Linked DNA regions of Homo sapiens: region 2 is linked to region 1. The links are contacts of gene promoters, found by promoter capture Hi-C in human tissues and cell types (Jung and others, 2019). All regions are on one chromosome and are shown on one strand. The core of a region is centred on a gene start or on the middle of the fragment in contact, and the rest is flanking DNA. Distances in the headings are between cores, read along the strand shown.

Region 1 (3,182 bases), core at 495-2,994:
ATATGCCTACTTATTAGGCATATACAAGATCGATAATGTTGTGGATCTTATTATTATTGCCCAAGGGGCTAATATTCACTTTTCAAAACTTATTACTCATCTAGTTCAGCAGCTCAAGATTTTGAAGCAAATCTGTTTTACATACATGTCTTAACCTTCAATCCCATTTAAAAAAAATAGTAAATTAGATGGTTAACCTTTTAGATTTGCATCCTCTTTAAAATAAAGCTTTACAGCAAATGCATTTTTCCTACAAATGTCTTCGAAAATGAGATTGAAGAGGATGTATCATCTAAATTTTTCTGTAAAGAGCTTGCCCCCGAAATAATTGGAACATGAACTGAAACCTCTAGATAGGAATTCCTGGACACAGCTGTCCATTATCTTTCGGGACTTTGGTGCACCTCACCCTTTACTGAACACAACTTTGTGTCAAACACTGGGCTAGGAGTGCTAGTTGTGATGTTTGAGGCAACAGTGGAATTTTTCTTAGGACTTAGTAGAACCAGTTCTTTTTTTTAATATGCATAGTCAGATTTTGATGATATTCAGTCTGCTCATATCTATAATAGTGATATTAACGTCTATTTCACTAGGATGGCTCTTGTGAAGATTAAATTAAATACTGTATGAAGAAGTGCCTTATACACAGTTATATAACCAGGATAATATCCAGATGGAATTCTCATTCTCTCTCTCTCTCTCTCTCTCACTCTCACTCACACACACACACACACACACACACACACACACACACATGCAATATCATCTTATAAATATCCTAGAATTGAATATCTCAGTAGCAGAGATAGTAGTTCTGTTTCTCAGAATTGCTTTTGCAAAATGGTGTTTTGGATTATAATTGTGCTATTTAATTTTTCTAATTAAAATTTCTAAATAGAGCCTATTAAATATTGGATGCTTATGATAGAACATTTGAAAATATAGAAAACCAAATGACCTACAAAACCTCTACCTTCCAGTACCATCATTCCGAGCTGATTACTGTTAACATTTTAATGGTTTTTGTCCGCTAGGTCTCCTTGATGAGTTTCACCTGAGGAAAAGGACTCCTTCAGGTGTGTGAACTTGAGCCACCAGGTCCAACCCCATTGGCAGGTGCTGGTACAGACGACTGAAATCAGAGGAAGATCAGAAATCTTCAAAACCCAGAGCAGCAGATGTCTTAACGGTCCCGAAACGTTCTTTGGTTCTTTGCAGTCAACATTCACGGGTTAAGAAGATTGCAATGCCATGACGGGCTGAGGTTGCATTTCTGGACGCTGCTTACTCCCGCTTCCTTCCATCTGTTTCAGGCAAATCATTATGCAGTTCTAATTAGAACAATCTTCTAAACACTCTCTCCAGAGCGACGTTCTTCCAAACACGGTTTAAGCGGCGAGAGACACCTGCCTAGGACCCTACGCGTCTGGAAGTCTCTCCCAGTGAATTGGGTCTCATCTCCTGCCGAGTACGCAAGTTCAATTATCGGCAGATTAGGTTTCTACTCTCCGTGCCCCGCCCCGCGCCATCCTGGGGAGCAGCGGGAATAAATGATCCGCCCCTGGCCAGTGCTCACCCGACTGACCAGAGCGCAGCCCGGTGACCGAAGCGCACGGGGCGATCGCGAGGCGCCCCCTCCCTCTCCCCGCGCCGCCTCCAGCGCGAGTGACGGCGCGCCCTCCGGGCTCCGGAGCGGCGGCGCCGAACAATCCCCGGCAGGGCTCGCCTCGCCGGTGACATCACTCCTGAAGATACTCCTCGCTCCCAGCGCCTGCCTTCCCCAGGCGTCCGTTCGTGTGCCCGTCTCCGCCTTTCCGCCTCGGAAGAGCGCTCATCACTGGCTGGGGACAGAGCCGGGCACCAAGGAGCGACAGGATCCCGAAGAGAGAGAGAGAAGGCAGCGAGGGAAGGAGGACCCCGGCAGGCAGCAGCATGAAATTCAGCCCAGCGCACTACCTGCTGCCTCTCCTGCCTGCGCTGGTCCTCAGCACCAGGTGAGTCCAGGAGCGTGAGTGACCTGAGGCCAGGGGCGCTGCCGGGGCGAGGTTGGTCCTACTGTGGGTCACCAGTGGGGGCCAAGGCACTTCAGCTGTTTGCATCTCCCGCCTAAGCAAGAGGGACGCTGTATGGTTTGGGCTCTGAAATCCTTCTGAGAGAGCAGAGCCCTTTCCTAGTTATCCCAGCCCCCTGGAGAAAGTCTTAGGATTGCTCTCAGTGAGGGATCAAAAGCTTTCTCTTCCGAAGGAGAGAAAAGACATTTTACCCTCCGGTCCTATTAGTAGCCAAAAGGTAACACGCGGTAAAAGAACAAAATAAAGAACGGAAATAGGCAAGGAGGGAATTGCCACCAGGCAGTGTCTTTACATTGGAGTTGTCTTAATAACCATAGAGCTTCTCCCTTCCCCCAAGTGTGCCTGATTTAAGGAAGAGGAAACCAGAGAAAACAGATTAATCCTGGAAGATGCTAAGACTTGTACAAAAGTTCCTGGACTCCTGAAATGGCATGTTTCAACGTCTTGGATAAGCTTAGTGATAGGCGTTTTCTTTTGACTGTCTTGTGAACAGGTCTAATTAAAGAGCACAGAAGGCGATTAAAAGTTAGAAGACACTCTCAGAGTGCTGATGCAGAGACCCTAGTCAGAAACAATTAAGTACTGTACTCCATCACTGGCCATGGATGGGACTTTAAGCCCCATTACAGAGGAGCTATTTTTGGTGGAGATTTAAAATGCAGAGATTGAGAAGAGTTTTGTGACTCCCCACTGTTGATCAAGTCCCAAAGTTGTGATGGGTTTGCTTTTTTCTTCCACAAGCGCAGCACAAAGGTGGACTGTTTAGTTGCCCAGGACTGTCTTTATTCTGCATGCCCTTAGCATCATATTGGCAGCAACCTCTTTCCCTTGGCTACTATAAAATAAAATAACCCACACAGGATGAAGATCCTTTCAAGTCTACGTGAATAGAAACATTATTTGATTGTGCATCTGATGGCAAATAAAGTAGGGATATAGGGTTGTTTCTAATTCTGAAATGGAAAAGGATGAAGAAAACTTACTCTGTCTTACAAATCAAGGCTGTAAAATTCTTGATTCCGTTCCTAATCTACACACCTTCTTTCAGGCCTGTGTAACCAAACTTTCCTTTTAGTGTAGAGACTATTTCATTTACCCTCAATAATT
Region 2 (3,079 bases), core at 33-2,532, 170 kb after region 1:
ATTAATTCACTTTTATAGAAATGAGAACTATAAAGCAGTAAAACTGGCAATAACTAATATCATCCACAGGATGGTAAGTGCTGTAATAAAGACTATAGCAGACTGGAAAGAAAATCTTGTCCTCAAAAGTTCACAGTGCAAGTTTGATTGCATTATTGCATAGTGCAAAGTGAAAGTGATTGCATAGTGCATATGAAAGTTTGATTGAATTATTACAGAAAAAGTGTGGTTTTCTTGCTTCTTTAATCTGGTTTCACATGCTGGTACTTATCTGGAATCTTTGTTTGGAAATAAAACAAACTAATCTCCAACACTGAAGCATAAAGGGAATTTACGAGTTTCATCGAAGATTCCAGGGTAAATGTCTGGATTTCAGGCATGGCTAGATGCAGGAGGTCAAAGAACGTCCTTGGAATTTGATACATGTTTCTTCATGTATGATAGTTCCCCATATAGTTTTATTCTCAAAGTGGCTTTCTGTCTGTGGAGACAAATGACATGCTGAAAGGTCTAGAAACATATATTCAGAAACTAGCAACCCTTGTAAAGAGAATACCATTTTACTCCACTATCACTTGAAAAACTTTGGGACACTGAGCAAATTGGGACCATGTATCCATCACTGAATGAATCATTGTGGCCAAAAGTATGAAATCCTCCAAATGATCAGCTTTCCACATGGCAAAGAGTCATACAAGAGTGACTTCCCTAAACAAAGGAACATGCTTTTTTCCTAGAAGGGGAATAGATAAAACAAATGTCTGTTACACTGCACGTCTCTCGCTTTCTATTATTTATAAATAGTTTAATCCTGAAACTCAACTTCTCTCATAAGAAATGAAATATACAAAAAGTAGATTAGAAGAAAATGGAGGCAAGGATCAAAGTGTGGCTTTACCCAAGTAAAATCTGAGTAAGTACTAGATTTTCCTGGACATTTAAATGTTTATTACATACCATTTTCCAAACATAGGTTTGAAAATGTTGCAGAAAATGTCAAACTTGCACTAGAATTTCTATATTTTTCAGTAAACGGCTTTTTCCTTCAACCAGAAAGTTTGGGTTTAAGCACCTAGTGAAATAAAATCTTACTAACCTGCTACTAGGCAGGCAGCAAGGTGCAACACCAAAAAAGGAAATCAAAAGAACCAAGTTAAAGACCCAGCTCTGACAGTAACTACCTTTGTGACATTGGAAAAATGTTCTTTTTACTTTAACTTTCTCATCAGTAAAATTAGAAAATTAGCAAAAGCAATGTGTGTGCTCCCAGGTTTATCCAGAAGTGAAATGAGCAGTTTGTTCCTTACTACAAATGAATTATTTTTTGTCTTCCAAATTAATTATTTATTATTCTTGTGCCTAGTTGTATTCAGTGTTACTCAAGCATACTTTATCACCCAGTACTTTTCTATCTTATTCCTGGAATAAAAAATAAATTCTGTCTGGGCCTGCCGAATGCTTTCCTAATTGGTATTAATGATTTGCTTTTAAATTAGTTGTGCATTTTTATAGAACTAACCTTTGGGGATTACAATTAATGCTACAATTGTTTTAAACCATTAGAGGAAACTGCCAATGAATCTTTTCTATTTTTTTTTTCTTCTTTGTGTTCTGGGCTGTGAAAATGGTCACTCTCAGATATTTAAACATATTTAGATTTGTGGAGGAGAAGAGAGCACATTGTTTGGATTATTTAAAGCAGGCACAATTTATAGAAACTTTCAGTAGCTAAACTTCATTGGTTTTCTTGATAGGATGTTCACGTGCGGTATTTGAGGAATTGTGCTTTTGTACTGTGATGCAAAATAGGCACCTGGTCTCTTTCTAGACTTTTCGAAGGTGCATTCTTTTGGCTTAGGTCATGAATCTTAAAAAATCCTGTCCTGAAGCAAAGAGAGGAGAAATATAATTTCTATTGATTACTTTATGATCAAATTTCCTTTAACTATCTTTGGCTATGAACATGTCACTTCAAATAGCTAATGGTAGGACTCTAGGCATCTAGAGATGACAATAAATTGTATGTTTATCTGGCTACATTCTGAATTAAAAAAAACTAAAACATATTTCACTATGGCAATATATTTCCGATGAATAACTTCAGGTAAAAACAATGTAATAAGTTTACACTGAAGGAGTATAATGTAGTCTAGTTAATGCTCCTTAGATAAGCTGCTTAATATAGTCTTATTTTCTACTTAAAAATATAGTGTTCATAGAAGCAACACCAGAACTTGGAGTGAAAACAAGACTCAAGTTGCAGCTCTGGTATTGACAGCTCTGTGACCACAGATAAGTCACTTCATTTTCATTAGCATTAAGTAATTTTTTAAATGGCAATTATTTTATCTTTTCTTGTGTAAGGATGACTATGGTCATAATAACAGTCACAGCCACTACAAGTTAACCCTAGAATGTTGTCATTCCCATTTTATGGATGAAATAAAGCTTCAAATAGTTAAATATTAAAGATTAGTTATATAAGTATGTAAACTTAGGCCCGGTTGACTTCAGAATGTGAGTTTTGAACCTGTCTTATTTATCACATCAAATGGCAATTCTTTTAGTTGCATTTATATCACCTGCCAAATTGCTGCCTTAGAGTTCTTTCTAATAGGCTGTTTTTTTGAAAACACACAGACACACACATATTTATCTTGGGACAGATTTTTAAATATCTGTATTGATAAATTTCTAATCAGTTTTGACTTCCAGAGTTTTTAATTAATTTACAAGAAACTCTATTAACTTATATGTTATTTTTTAATTCCCAAAATTTTAGATTTTCTTTTATTTCATCAGAAAAATCAATTAAGTATTCATTTTAGTTTATGTAAAGTTGGTATTTAGATTTATATTTTTCTCAAAAAGACAAACCTTTTCTAGGATTCCTGACAAAATAATCCAAATTTCTCCTACTGATTTTTAATTAGTTTCTATGTAGCTATCTATCTGTAATTAATCCGATAATAATGTGAATGAATATAGTTTCATACTGCATTTTCATTTTCTTTTAAAGCTAATTCTCTCTCATTATTATTCTTTCTCAAAGATGTCCTGGGTATTGTGTATATTTTTA

The links. Contacts are between HindIII fragments. The study calls those that stand out against the background at their distance.
Region 2: a fragment that was not itself captured here is called in contact with the fragment with the promoter of LUZP2 in region 1 in 2 of the 25 tissues and cell types used here (IMR-90 fibroblasts and adrenal gland).

The regions. Positions count from the first base shown.
Region 1 is chr11:24,495,309-24,498,490 of GRCh38, forward strand. LUZP2 (leucine zipper protein 2) reads left to right here and starts at 1,745. Exons shown (of 12, transcript NM_001009909.4): 1 at 1,745-1,997. The coding sequence starts at 1,936. The HindIII fragment of the contact is 10,753 bases long and covers 1-3,182 here.
Region 2 is chr11:24,667,951-24,671,029 of GRCh38, forward strand. The region is part of intron 1 of LUZP2 (leucine zipper protein 2); the gene reads left to right. Among named protein-coding and RNA genes, the nearest start is that of LUZP2, 170 kb to the left of the region's middle. The HindIII fragment of the contact is 6,331 bases long and covers 1-3,079 here.